Linked DNA regions of Homo sapiens: all the other regions are linked to region 3. Evidence: promoter capture Hi-C in human tissues and cell types (Jung and others, 2019). All regions are on one chromosome and are shown on one strand. The core of a region is centred on a gene start or on the middle of the fragment in contact, and the rest is flanking DNA. Distances in the headings are between cores, read along the strand shown.

The links. The method cuts DNA at HindIII sites, captures the fragments that hold promoters and counts their contacts. A contact is called where the count stands out against the background at its distance.
Region 1: a fragment that was not itself captured here is called in contact with the fragment with the promoter of ITGB2 in region 3 in 2 of the 25 tissues and cell types used here (mesenchymal stem cells and spleen).
Region 2: a fragment that was not itself captured here is called in contact with the fragment with the promoter of ITGB2 in region 3 in 12 of the 25 tissues and cell types used here (H1 embryonic stem cells, IMR-90 fibroblasts, bladder and 9 more).

Annotation. Positions count from the first base shown.
Region 1 is chr21:44,958,445-44,963,223 of GRCh38, forward strand. SLX9 (SLX9 ribosome biogenesis factor) reads left to right here. Exons shown (of 6, transcript NM_058190.4): 3 at 1,656-1,724. Among named protein-coding and RNA genes, the nearest start is that of SLX9, 21 kb to the left of the region's middle. The HindIII fragment of the contact is 4,593 bases long and covers 1,234-4,779 here.
Region 2 is chr21:44,877,433-44,882,315 of GRCh38, forward strand. No RefSeq gene overlaps it. Among named protein-coding and RNA genes, the nearest start is that of PTTG1IP, 6.2 kb to the left of the region's middle. RefSeq lists a silencer at 4,002-4,296 and an enhancer at 4,167-4,316. The HindIII fragment of the contact is 4,746 bases long and covers 1-4,301 here.
Region 3 is chr21:44,919,036-44,923,845 of GRCh38, forward strand. ITGB2 (integrin subunit beta 2) reads right to left here and starts at 1,864. Exons shown (of 16, transcript NM_000211.5): 1 at 1,786-1,864. ITGB2-AS1 (ITGB2 antisense RNA 1) reads left to right here and starts at 2,000. Exons shown (of 3, transcript NR_038316.1): 1 at 2,000-2,292. RefSeq lists a silencer at 455-514. The HindIII fragment of the contact is 46,650 bases long and covers 1-4,810 here.

The DNA of each region.
Region 1 (4,779 bases), core at 2,280-4,779, 41 kb after region 3:
AGCTCGAGCGGACTTCACACTGTCCCCACCACAGGGTGGGGTGCGCCCACCTGCCCTGTCCATGTGGCCTTGGGCCTGCGGGGGAGAGGGAATCAGGACCCACAGGGCGAGCCCCCTCCGTAGCCCGCGGCACCGACTGGATCTCAGTGAACACCCGTCAGCCCATCCAGAGGCTAGAAGGGGGAGCAGGCGTGAACCTGTGCCGGAGCACTTCAGCAAGGGCGCCTTGGGCCCGGAAAGCGGCGGGAGCTGGGGGTCGTGGGGCCGCCGCCAGCAGTTCCAGGCGGCCTCTGCTCCAGCTGCAGCATTCCAAGCCCTCTCCTCCTGCAGGAGCAGCGTGTTTGGTTCCTGTTGTCCTGGTGCCATGGCAATGGGGCTGGGGAGCTCCCTGGGGCCAGAGCCGGGAAGGATCACTGTGCTGTGTTCCTGACCTGGCCTGCGCCCAGGCCTCGTTTTCTTCATTCCAACACAACACAGGTCACTGTTCGGGTCAGTTTCCACTGGTCTTAGATTCATTTTTCTTTTGAAACAATTTCAAAACTACAGAAAAGCTGCAAAATCAGCCCCTCCCCTTTGTGGTCGGGAGGGAGAGGTTGGGATGCTATGGAGGAAAGTAGGTCAACCCAGGCACACCAGGAAGCTGTGGGAGGGGATTAAATCCTGCGGGAGCCCTGGGCCTTGGAGGTTTCACACCGGCTCCTGAAGTGAAGTCTGAAATGCAGAGCGCAGCGACTGCCTTTCTCCAGGCAGGGCTTGCTTCTGCTTTGTTTTTCATTAGACATGGTGGATTTGTTGGACAAGCCAGGAAGGTCTGCATGAATTAAAAGAGATACTGGGAGATGTGTTCTGGGGAGAATGCAGCCGAGGCTGAACCGTCTCGGGAAATCAGTTAAGGCCGAGGAAATGGGGGTGCCCTTGAGTCCACTCTGTTTCAGAGCAAACTGGAGTCAGAGACGCAGCACCCAGTGCCCTCTCCACCTGTCCCCACCTGCACGGCCCTGCAGGCTCATCCCACCCCTGCCCCTGTCCCCCCAGCAAATGAGCCTCCTTTCCCCGCCCACCGGGCAGGTGGCTGGGCTCCGCGTGGACCAAGCACAGGGGCACCTGTGGAGTTCACTTTTGGAGGCTCCCTGAGAGGGCCGCTTTGTGGGGTCCAGGGATGAAGCCTCTGGTCACCGAGCACATTGTCGGGCCTGGCAGGGGGCAGGGAGCACGTACGTCGCTGGGCCTGACGTGACCACACAGGATCTTGGGGATGTCCCCCTAAGGGCCTCTGTCCTGTTCGTGGCCCCCTTCATGAGCCGTCGGGCATTCCTGCATGGCTTCACTGCAATGACTGCCCTGACAGTCATTCGGGGCATGAGTGGGGAGGAGGCCTCCTTGTTGGGACACCTGCTTTCCGGGGCAGGCTGGGGTGAGTGGCCAGGCCATCACTGCGGGGGGACGCTGCTGAGAGAGCCTCCTGAGGCCGGGCCGAGGCATGCTGCAGGTGCCCCTGGTGCTGTCCAGAGCCGGGAGTCTGAGAGGCTGGCACAGGCCAGACCAGTTGCAGTGACTGTGGCAGCTCTGCAGTCAGGACCCGCCCCAGCCCATTCTCAGGTCATGGGAGTGCCACCTGGACACGTTTTGCTCACTCCCGTGTTCTCTTTCCTCAGGTGCAGAGGCCAAGACCGTTTTGCCCAAGAAGGAGAAAATGAAGCTGAGGCGTGAGCAATGGTTGCAGAGTAAGTCCATGCCTGCGTCTTGAGGCAGCTGCCGGCCCAAGTCCCATCCCGTGGGCCCTCCTATTCCTACAGCCTCACATCTGGCCTTCTACATCAGCCACACTCCCCGAGGAGTGCCCAAGGGGATCACCCAAGACACTTCAGAGGCTGCTGTGGGGGCCGAAGGACAGTGGAGGCACAGAGAGGTTGGCCATGAAGACTTGGCAGCATGGCCAAGCTGGTCTGGCCTGTTGTGGATGGCACTGCCACCCCGTCCGTGTGGGCACCTGCAGAGCTGGGCTGCCTCCCTTTGGAGGACGGCCTTGGGAAGCTGCTGCTCTCGGCTCCTTGTTTGTAAAAATTACCTATTTTTGTTCCCCACCGTGAAATTTTTTATTGTGGAAGTAACCTGTGCTCGTGGAGTTTTTATGGTTCAGAAGTGCCTGCAGTGGTATGTGAAATCCTTCCAGGCCTTGCCCGCGGTGAAAACAGTGTCTGCGCATAGCGGCGTGGGTGTGGGCAGGGCCCCTGGTGTCCCCAGACCCTTTCAGGCCTGTGGCTCCCTCTTTTCTGAGGTCAGCCTTGCCACGTGCTCCCAGCTGCACGTCTCCGCAGGCTGAAAGCCACACTTCCCACTCAGGTTGTTTTGGAGTATCTCCTTATTTTTCGTGATGCTGGATATTTGCCAGTGTTTTTCTAAGATTGTTTCTCGTCAAAATTATTTTGTATTTTTCGGTTATCTTTTTAGTGTGATTCTGCTGACTTTGTGAAATTAATTTGGAATATTTTCTTTTTTATGTTATCTGCTTTATTTTTTCCTTGGAGGTTTTAAAGAAAATGTATGTTTTTCAGAGGTAGGACCTAGAAAACTTTGTCAGTTTCTTTTGTGATTATTAGTTTTATGGTTTCTATCCCTTTTTGGATATTTCTTAGGGAAATGATTCATTCCTCCATTTTCTTTTTCACAGTTCCTAGCATAGCTGTGAAAGTGGATTTGGACGGGCTACTGGACTGTGGCCATTTGGACCCTGATTTTCTAGGCTGTAATTCTTTGATGATGTGTAAATTTTATTCCATGGCACTTGGTCCTTTTTTTTTGTTTTTTCACAACTTGAGTCAATTTTGGCCACTCATAAAATGATCGAATTTGTCTGAGGATGGTGTCTCATGCCTGTAATCCCAGCACTTTGGAAGGTTGAGATGGAAGGATCACCTACGCCCAGGAGTTTCAGACTAGCCTGGGCAATATAGCGAGACCTTGTCTCTACAAAAAATGTAAAAATTAGTCAGATTAGGTGGTGTATGCCTCTGAGCCTCTAGTCCTAGCGACTTAGGAGGCTGAGGTAGGAAGATCGCTTCAACCCAGGAGTTTGAGGCTGCAGTGAACCGTAATTGCACTAGTGCACTCCAGCCTGGGTGACAGAGTGGGTCCTTGTCTCTAAATAATGTTAATGATCAAATTTAGTCAGATCTCAATCTTCATATGTTAGTTGCCTTCTTATTAAATATTCTGTTTTCTTTATCGTTCTTTATTTGTATCTCCACCTTCATTTCTGATTAAATTAAGAAGTTTTGTCTCTTCCATTTAATAATTAATGTATTTAATAACCAATTCTACTCTTTTGTCTTCAAAATTATTTGTTTTTATTTTGATCACTCCCGTTTTAGCTTTCTTTGGGTTTCAGTTACTCTGCTTATCTGTTTGTATATGTTTTGTTCAGGAGTGAAAGGCTGTAAGTTATCTCTAAATACAGCTTTAGCTACATTTCCCAAGTTACTTTTACTTTGTATTTTATTATGAAAAATTTTATTTAGGAAAGTGGGAAGAATTTTATAGGGAATACCCTGTACCCACCACACAGATTTTACAATCTTTATTACATAACCGTTCATCTAGCAGTTTCTGTCCATCTACCAACATGGGTTTTTAAAAATGCGTTTCAAAGTAAATGGCAGACATCAGTACACTCCACCCCAAATAATTCTGCTAGAGTTCATGGTTCTTTTTTTTTCTTTTTCTTTTGAAGATTGTATTTACATAAAATGAAATGCAAATCTAAAGTGTGCCATTCAATGATTGCTGACAAATGTTGTAGACACCTGTGCAGCTGAAATCCTGTTCAGGTTATGGACCATCACCACCATTCCCCGACAGTCACGCACCCCCCCAGTCAATTACCTCTCCCACTGGCCCCAGAGGTAACAACTGCTGTGTCACCCTTTGTCGTCCACAGTTGAGCTTTTCTTGCCTTAGACTCTGTATAAATGGAATCATGTAGGATGCACTCTTTCTGCATCTGGCTGCTTTTGCTCAGCGTAATGGTTTTGAAACCCATCCAGGCTGCATGTAGCAGCAGTCCATGCCTTTTGATTGCTGAGAAGTATTTCATTGTATGAATACACCATTTGTTACTCACTTTCCTGCTGATGGGCACCTGGGCTTTTTTCCATTTTTAGCTACTGTGAATAAGGCTGCTCTGAACATTCTTTACAAGTCTTTTTGTGGACATGTTTTCGTTTCTCTTGGGTAAGTGCTGAGGAATGGAATGCTGGGTCATAGGGTAGGTGTATGTTTAGTTTTATAAGCAGCTGCCAGACGCTTTTCTAGAGTGGTTGTACACTCACACTCCCACCAGAGCCTGTGAGAGTTCTCCTGGCCCTCAGCTTTGCCAACACATGGCCTGCCGTCTCCTCAGCCTCGGCCGTCTGGTAATCATGAAATGGTATCTCACGGTGGTACTCATTTCCGTTGCCACCAAAAGAGCATTTACATGTGCTTACTGTCCATTTGTGTTTCAGCGTCAGTGAAATTCATTTTTCATGAGGCTTTTTGTCTTTTTATTATTGAGCTCTAAGAGTTCTTTGTCCTAGAGTCCAGTCTTTGGTTGGATATGTGTTTTACAGATGTTTTTCCCAGACTGTGACTTGCCTGTTCATTTTCTTTCTTTTTTTTTTTTTTTGAGATAGAGTCTTGCTCTGTCGCCAGGCTGGAGTGCAGTGGTGCGATCTTGGCTCACTGCAAGCAACACCTCCTGGGTTCAAGCGATTCTTCTGCCTCAGCCTTCTGAGTAGCCGG
Region 2 (4,883 bases), core at 679-3,178, 42 kb before region 3:
CTTAAAAAAAATTTTTTATTACAATACATGGGCAGTTTACTCCTTTGCTCAGAAGATAAGCAAAGCTTTTATAGAAGATGGGATACATTCATTACAACAGCCCTAAAGGGACATAAAATTCCTAAAGAAAAACCTCAATTTTATAAAAAACAAAGTACTTGGGCCACTTAATATCTAAAGAAAGACTTTCTACTAATCTAGATAGACTGAAAGGAATTTTAGCTTTCCACCACCAACAACCAAGAAACAAAAGGATGTGGAGGACTGGCAGGATATTATAGAAATTGGATCCCAAACTTTTCTTTAAAGCTCAGTCCTTATACGCTCTCTAAAAACAGGACATGCCAGGACTTTAGAGTGGTCAGAAGAAAATACACCAACATTTGAAATGATCAAACGTGACCTTGCTAATGCTCCGCCTTTGGGGCATACAAATTATAACCTTCCATTCTATTATTTGTATAATACATGAAAGTGGTGGAGATGCTTTAGGGGTTCCTAAAACACTGTTATATGTAAAAATTGTTATTTAGAAACAGAATGCTTGTTCCCAAGTGCTGCAAAGACACAGCACTCGAACATAAATTTAATTCTCTCAGCAAGGCCATTTTTACTTTCTGCAGAAGGGGTGCTCATCACAGATGGAACAATGGCGAGAGCACACCTGAACAAAGGAGGGAAGCCATTTTCATCCCTGCCGCTGTTTGGCCCTGCTACTGTGTCCTGTCTCCATTGGCTGGAGCCAGACCTCACAATCTAAACTAAAACCCGATTGGCTAACAGTTTAAAACTTTTCTAAATAGGTAAAAGTAATGGAAAGACAAAGGAAAAGAGGAAGTTGCTTAATACCAAATAGGGAAGGGGCATAGGCTGCGAGCTGGAATGTGCCTGTGGGCAGGTCCAGCACAAATATCCTGGTTAAGGTTCAAGGACATAGAATGTACTACGTGCCCGTGAGCAAGTGTAACAGCTACACAGGCTAGAGCTTAACGAGCAGTTATTAGCACGAAGCCAGGAGGCTTGAAGGAAGTTAGTTTTTAAAAGAAACTATTATTTTTAACACTTATGATTTACTCTTTAACAAGAAGGGAAACTTTGAAGAGGAACTTTTTGCTTTCTACAAACACAAAGATCGAAACAGACAATCATTGCCACAGTTCCCTAAAATATAATCCAGGAAAACCATTATAAGGACATTTCCCTTTACCCGAGGCCCTTGTGAGTTATGACCATTAGATGCCATGCTGTTGCCACCCTCAGAAACATACAAACATGTTCTGATAACAATTTACTTGTTTTCTCACTGGGCAGAGGCATTTCCATGCAGAAGAGCACTGCCTTAGCAGTGAGTAAAATTGCTGTAGAAAAAGGTATTGCAACCTGGGGAGTTCCTCTGGAACTTGTAGCAATAGAGGAACTCACTTCGCTGGACGGATGATTCAATCAGTATGTAAACTTTGGCCCATCCTCCAGCATTTCCATTGCGCTTACCACACCCAGTCATCTGGGTTAGTGAAATGCACCAATGGAATAATCAAAACTCAGTTGGCAAAATTAACCAAGGCTTTTCAAATTCCTTGGTCAGAAGTTCTTCTACTGGTTCTGCTTAATCAGAGGTCGACCCCTTTAGGTAAACACCAGTTATCTCTGCTAAAAATTAGGCAGACCCATGAAATTATCTCCAAGAAACTGTACGTCTATGATATTAAAGGGAGACATATTCAGCTATTGCAGTGCCCTTGCAAAACATTAATGAAAAATTATAATTGGCAAAAATAATCTTTTCACAGTGAGCTCCTGGGAAACAAAAATTTCAAGGACCACAGACTTCAACCAGGAGATTTTGTCTATTGGAAATGACATTTTTTAAAAAGTCTCTGCAACCTGCTATGGACCTTATCAGGTACTCCTGACCAGCCTTCACCATAAAATTAGAAGACGACCCTTGAATTCACATCTCCCATCTAAAGAAATCTGAGCCTCGGCTGGGCGCGGTGGCTCACTCCTATAATCCCACCACTTTGGGAAGCCAAGGCAGGTGGATCACCTGAGATCAGGAGTTCGAGACCAGCCTGGCCAACACGGTGAAATCCCATCTCTACTAAAAATATAAAAATTAGCCAGGCATGGTGGCGCACCTGTAATCCCAGCTACTCAGGTGGCTGAGGCAGGAGAATTGCTTGAACCCGGGAGGCAGAGGTTGCAATGAGCCGAGATTGTGCCACTGCCCTCCAGCCTTGGTGACAGAGTGAGATTCCATCTCAAAAACAAAGAAAACTGAGCCTCCGAAATGGGCTCTTGTACCAGAAGGTGATACCCTGGGACAGCTGGGACAGTGTTCTTTGGGTTATGCCGGTCACAAGGTCAAATATTTCATACCGTTTCACACTCACCAATCTTCCTCATCTACAGTCTTGTCAGATTCATCCTGTATTCCATTGGTATCATCATTTAGCTTCTGTCTTTCTGCCATAACTGGGTATTGAAGGCGTTACTTGACACGTAGAGGCCCTCACCAGTTACACACAAAAGGCCTTAAGATATAGCCAGGTATCTCATGATTAAATGATAAACTTACCTGAGAAAATCTGTATTATAAAACCATATGGCTTTAGACATACTCACCGCAGCTCGAGGGTAACCTGTGCTATCGTAAAACTAAAAGCTGTGTCTGTATCCCAGATAAACCAAATAACATCACTAAATTCATGGCTGATGTGAAATCCACATAAACCAACCTTTCAGAGCCAAAACCTCCTCCAAACAACTGGCTAAATAGCTGGTTGGGATCTTGGCAAAATTAGTGACAAAAACTGTTAACTTATTCTAGAAATTACAATCATTTTTTACGTTTGTCCTGTTTGCTCAGGCTCAGCATAAAGGGATAAAGTGGATGCAAAGGGACCTTAGTGACAGCAAACTGTGTCTCTGACCCACGTCTTCCAGTTCAAATACTTTACATCTTCATTGGGATCTTCGATTGTATCAAAAGATGTTTAAAAAGCCATTTGCAGGCCAGGCACAGTGGCTCATGCTTGTAATCCCAACAGTGGGAGGCCAAGGCAGGTGTATCACTTGAGGTCAGGAGACCAGCATGGCCAACATGGTGAAACCCTGTCTCTAGTAAAAATCCAAAAATTAGCCGGGTATGGTGGCACACACCTGTAGTCTCAGCTACTTGGAGGCCAAGGCAGGAGAATCTCTTGAACCCAGGAGACAGAGGTTGCAGTGAGCTGAGATCGCACCACTGCACTCCAGCCTGGGCCACGGAGTGAGACTACATCTGAAAAAAAAAAAAAATCAGTTTGCAGAAACAGAATAAACACAAGTCTAGTTTAGAACTATGCCCCTGAAACAATACAACCACACAATGCTAATTTAATGGTATTTGATGGACATTAGGTGTTTGTAAACATTAACCAAAACTCGGTGAATATCACCACATTTTAAACAATGCACAATGGCATTTTAAAATATAACTAAGTTCTGGGACAACTTAACAATGCAGAAGTTCAAAAAATGCATGGTATAACCCCAGTTCCTGTTTTAACCGCATGGAAGTCAAGATTTAAAAAGAGGAAATGGGAGGCATTGTGTAATTTAACATGTCTGGAATCCAAAGATACATATTCAATTGTCAAAGAGCTTCAAGCTCAGAGGAATGACCCAAACGGCACATTGTACAGGAAGTACAACCGTTATGACTCTTTACAGAAACAGGATGATTACTTAGAGCAGTCTGGAATTAAAAGTGCATATGTCTTTCCATGAAGAAAGATGGTTAGGGAATTAAACTGATACAGTCACAATGGTATCAACTTAGGAGAAATGACAGCCGAGCCCCAGAGCAATGGAAAGGGCTGTCCACAGGACCAGACAGCCACAGTGGGCTGGGGCCAGAGAGGGGAAGTTCCAGGGTCCCCACCTAGTTGTGCATATTGGAGTCACCTGCCAGGGATTTCCACCAGCGGGTTTATTTGGTGGTTAAGTGTCTGTGCAGTTGGATTTTTTTTGTATGTGGTCATTATGAGTACATTCCTTAGTGGGTGACTTCCAGAGAGGCTGCATAAAAAGAGTGAAGCTTCTGGCAACCCATTAAACCACCAGATGCTTAACACTGGGGAGAACAAGGAGAGCACCTGAAGGTCCCAGACTTTGGACTCACTTTGGAAGGGGCTAGACAGTGTGGAGCCTTGGACAGGCAGGGATCAGCAGGGTCTGGGGTGAGGCATGGAGGGAGGGAGAGAGGGCTGGGCCCACAGGCCACAGCCCATTTCCCATGATGGGACTAAGCAGCGGTGTGGAACCTGCACCCCTGGTATGTGGGAGGACTCCTGTGGGGCTGCACACGGTTGGCAGCTTCATGGCTTCAGAGCTGGTCTGTGCCACGCGAGATCTCTTGTGCTCAGGAGTTTGTCCTTGACCAAGGCACAGAGAGTTCCGGTTGCCCATCCCTTGCAAGCAGTTATGATTCTCAAAGCACTTCCTGTGCCAGCCTCTCTGCATCCTCCCAGGGCCAAGCTTTAGTGATCCCTCCACCTATACTTTTGACAAGACAAAACACAGCTTGTTCCAGGTCAGGCAGCCAGTAAGAAGTAGAGCTGGACGTGGACTGGGGGGGCTCATCCTTGGAGTCCGTGCTTCTTCCCCATGTCTCAGGAGCTCCCCTCATTTCTCTGGAACAAGGTTGGAACGTCAAAAAGACCTTCTGAAAACTGGCAGGAAAATGTCAGAAAAATCACAAAATGGATTGAGGGCATCTGACAGTTTGTCTTGCTAGAGGCACGTCTGGGGGTGATCCAGGCCCTTGCTGCAATCACTGAGATGGATCTCGAGCAGGGGCACGTGTCCTAGGACCCTGGCTCAGGGCCTATTGCCCACTG
Region 3 (4,810 bases), core at 614-3,113:
CAGCTGTTCATTGAGTGCTGGGAGTGGAAACTCATACGCTGAGCGGCAGTGACGCTGCGGAGCTGACAAACCCCACAGCCCGCCCGGTCACCTGCTTCACCGAGGGCCACAGCCCCCCCGGGGTCAGGTGGCCACAGGGGTCCTGGCCATGTGGGACATCTGTTCTGTGGCCCTGCTCAGGATGGCACCCGGCGGGGACTGGCCCTGGGGCCGAGGCATGGGCTCAGCCGCCGCCCTGCAGGGACGTAGCCAGGGACCTCTTCCCAGCAGAGGGACTCCCCCACTCATCCCCAGAATACTGAGGGGCACGCTGGGTGCCAGGCTGGCAGGGACCCTGGGGATTCTGCTGTGAGCTGGATGGGGAAGGAGTTCCTTCCTAAAATGTGGAGTCTGGAGGCCACTCTTGGTAAAGTGCTGGCCCCCGGGGATTCTGCAGTGAGCTGGGCATGGATTCTGCAGTGAGCTGGGCTTCACTCATGGTGAAACGCTGGGGTGACGGCAGACAGCCCAGAGCTTCTAGCAGCTCATTTCTGTGAAGCCTCCAGAATCCGGCCTCAGCCCCCAAACCCGCAGGCGTTGCGCCACCGTCACGGGGAAGGCGAGTGACAGCGAGTGTCCCCTATGCCCCCACAGCTCGCTCCCAGGCTGAGCTCTCCGGCCATCCCCCCCCTTCCCCATTGCAGCCATGCCACCCCTCCTTCTCCCCACCCAGGAACTGACAGAGGAGAGGGGCCCCGGATGGACAGGGACAGCAGGGCAGAATCCCAGCTCCCAGATCCAGGGGAGGGGGGATTGGGTGTGGGGACGGTGGTGCAAGGGGTGGTGCCAGGGGTGGAGGATGCATGGGGAGGGCTGGCCCCAAGAGTGCAGTGTTGGGGGAAGGGGGCCAGGTGGGCCTGGGACCCAGGGGCGTGGCTTCAATCCCCCTCCCACCAGGACCTTGGGAATGGCCTCCAGGAGCCTGTTGTGGGGAGGCCAGGGTCACCAGCTGAACCAACTCGACCAGAATCGCACAGCGGTGCCCGCTCCCCTACAGCAAGACGTCACCCAGGGGTCCCCACGGAGGAGGCAGGGAAGCTCGAGGGTCCCAGAGGAGCATGGAGCATGTGCCACACCACACCACACTACATTACACATGTGCACCATACATGTACATACAACAGACTCCCCACATCACATGCGCACACTCGCACACCATACATGCACACACACACACCACACTACGCTATGCCACACACGTGCACCATACATGCACACCATGCCACACTACACACACGACACTACACACCACGAACCACACCACACCATATCACACACCACACACTGCGAGTCGATCTGGAGATGGAATCGCTGTAGCCAGGCGGGGCAGCATGCAGACAGGAGGGCCTAACACAGGCAGGCGCAGCAGGTTCACAGAGGAGGCCCCGGGAACCTGCCTCCTGCCCAGCCCGGAGCACCAGGACCCCCCAGCCGTCCCCCTAGGGGCTTGTGGGCCCAGCCTCTTCCTGGCCTTGCCGGCCTCACAGCCCCTTGTCCTCCCATGCCGGCCCCATCCTCAGCCGCAAGCGCTCCCAGCACACCATGTGGCTCTGCTCTTGGTGGCAGGCACTTCCCCTTGCCGGGTCTCAAAGGGGACCCTGGAGCAGACGGTCTGGAGACCCCTTCCTGCCAGACACCCCTGGGCCGGGGCTATAAGCAGGGCCACCAGGGTCACTCCAGGCTGGGGCAGGAGAGTGCTTCCCTCCAAAAATCACCGTGGACATAGCGGGGCCTCTGCACACTCACCCTCGGTGTGCTGGAGTCCTCGGCGGTGCTCCTGGCTGGGCGTGGGGGCTTTGCTACCAGTCTGCCCTGGGTCACGTCTAGAAACCTCAGCTGGAGGCGCGGGTCGTAAAGTCCTGACACTTCCTGTTCCTCTCAGCTCCTCCTTGGAGGAAGTGGTGGGTTGCACCACCGTGGCCCTTCACCCCTGCCCCTCTCCGCTCTACAGCAGCTCTGATGTCAGAGAGCGGCCCCTTGAGACAGGTGGGACATGTCATTTCTCACATGAGGTCCCGGCGAGAAGGACCTGCTTCCATCAGATTCACACTTGGGAGAGGGGCCCGGCCTCCAGGAGCGCCAGGCAGAAAGGGCACCCATTAGGAAGAAGAACACAGAGGCCATGGGAGTGAAAAGTTTGATGCTGGAAAGCAACAGTAGCACATTCTGCTACAGAGCGGAATGAAAAACCCTGGGGAGCAAATTCCTGAGCCAGAGAATGGAGCGGAGGAACCAGCCAAGGAGGATAAAGAGGTGGGAACAGGCAAGAAAACCTGGGTGCGTGCACGCATTGACATCCACCTGCATGTGAGGGCGGGAGGGGACAGAACAGGGACAGCGAGGAGGAGACACTCAGGTCACAGGAGGAAGGCTGCGGATCTGGGCGGGGACGTGGATTGCGAGGCCACTGAACACCCCAGGGATGGATGGATGAGGTCCTGTTAACTAGGGACATTAGGAGGATACCACAGAACACGAAAGGGAAAATACTACAGGCTCAGAGAGAGAGAGAAGGGAGAGGAGGAGGAGGAGGAAGAGGAGGGAAAGAGATTATACCTAGAAAAAAAACCCAAATCAGACATCTTCAGAGCAAGGACTCAGACACATTACTACCCTAAACTCTGTTTTATTTATTTATTTATTTTTATGTTTTCAGTTTTTTTTGAGACAGAGTTTTGCTTTTGTCACCCAGGCTGGAGTGCAGTGGCGTGATCTCAGCTCACTGCAACCTCTGCCTCCCGGGTTCAAGCAATTCTCCTGCCTCAGCCTCCCAAGTAGCTGGGATTACAGGCACATGTACCACCACGCCTGGGTAATTTTTGTATTCTTAGTAGAGACAGGGTTTCACTATGTTGACCAGGCTGGTCTTGAACTCCTGGCTTCAAGTGATCCATCCACCTCTGCCTTCCAAAGTGCTGGGATTACTGGCGTGAGCCATGGCTCCCGGCTCCTAAACTCTGTTTTAAAGATGTCTTGCAGAAATAGACATGAAGAAATCCATGAGAAATACAAGAGCAGATGATACAAAGTTGGGCAAAGAAATAAGTAAAAATTATGATGTCATAACCTGTTGATTTAAAAAATAGTGGTAAGAATATTAACGCTGTGAAACAAAACGCCTAGAGGACTGGGTTGGGAGGGGCCAGGGAGCACATTGCCGTTCCATCCTATCTGGGGAGGAATATAGATGCTTGTCAGTGGGCATTTTGATAGAAAATATCTAAGTATATATGCTAACAATTCAAGAGTCTCCTTAAGAATAAAAATAGCATGTATATACCTGAAAAAAAATATGACAAATCTTTATTTTGGGCATGGTGGCTCAAACTTGTAATCCCAGCACTTTGGGAGGCCGAGGTGGGAGGATCACTTGAGCCCAGGAGTTCGAGACCAGCCTAGGCAACATTTGGAGACCCAGACCCTCATCTCTACAAAAAAATTTTCTAAGAATTCGCCAGGCATGGTAGCACGCGATATGGTCCAGGCTACTTGGGAGGCTGAGGTGGGAGAATTGCTTGAGCCCAAGAGGTTGAGGCTACGGTGAACCATGCTTACACCACTGCACTCCAGTCTGGGTAACTGAGAAAAAAAAAAAAAAAAAAAGGCAAATCCTTTAAAAGAAAAAAGTAAGGGAAAATAGAACAAACAAGAAAGGTAAATAAAAACCAAACAATAAAACATTGGGAATAATTTCAAACCCATCAGGAATCACAGCACCTGTGAATGGGTTACATTTTCTTGTTTTAAATCAACAAGGTCTTGCGTTGGGTTTTAGAAATAAAGAGACAAAACAAGTTCCAATGAAATGTTCTCTGTCAAGGGTATCTTCTCATTACAGACTTAGCCTAGAAAATAATGAAGAAGGACAGAAAGAGAATACCATTCTACTACACCCGCTGATGACTTAAAGTAAGCAATGACCCTCGCTGCGAACGTCACGGACGCAGCAGACGTTATGCACACACCTTTAATGAATTAGTCTTGATGAAATAACAATAGAAATCAAGAAAAATAGAAAGAACAAATGTTACTATTGAGCCTGAATCAGGTCGAACTTTTTAGATCTACAAAGAAGCATCAGGAGGGTGTGTTAGATGACATCGTAGGGATGCAATTAGCAAAATCCAGGCTGAAGAAACCCTCACAAGGCAAACAGCACAGTACAAGAGGAGAGACGAAGGGAGAGAGACCCTTTAGATTAAGAGATTTAATCTCTTAATAGAACCAATTGCAATGCATGGACCATATTTTAAAATCATTGTTAATTGTTTTAAGTGTGACAATGGTTTGTGGTTATGTTAAAAAGTCCCCATCTTTTAGAGTTACATGTTGAAATATTTGCAGATGGTGCAGTATAATGTTTCAGATTTATTTCCCAATAAAGAGGGGTGGGTTGGGTTGGGGGAGAGTCGGGAGAGGTGTTGATACAACAAGATCACCTGTGAGTTGATTATTTTTGAAGCCACTGTTGGGGACATGGGGCTTCACTAATCTATTCTCTCTACTTCTGTAGATGTGTGAAATTTTTTGTAGTAAGATTAAAAAAACATTTCAAGGAAGTGTAAAGTTATTATTTCGCGGGTATAAAGTTCCCGTTTTGCAAGATGAAATGGTTTTGGAGAAGTTGGTGGTGATGGTTGCACAGTACTAAGTGTCCTTAATGCCACGGAAATGCATAACTTCAAATGGTTAAAATGGTGAATTTATGTTATGTATATTTTATCACAATTAAAAAGTAAAAAGTGTAAGAAAGGCTCTCTATCAGATAAAC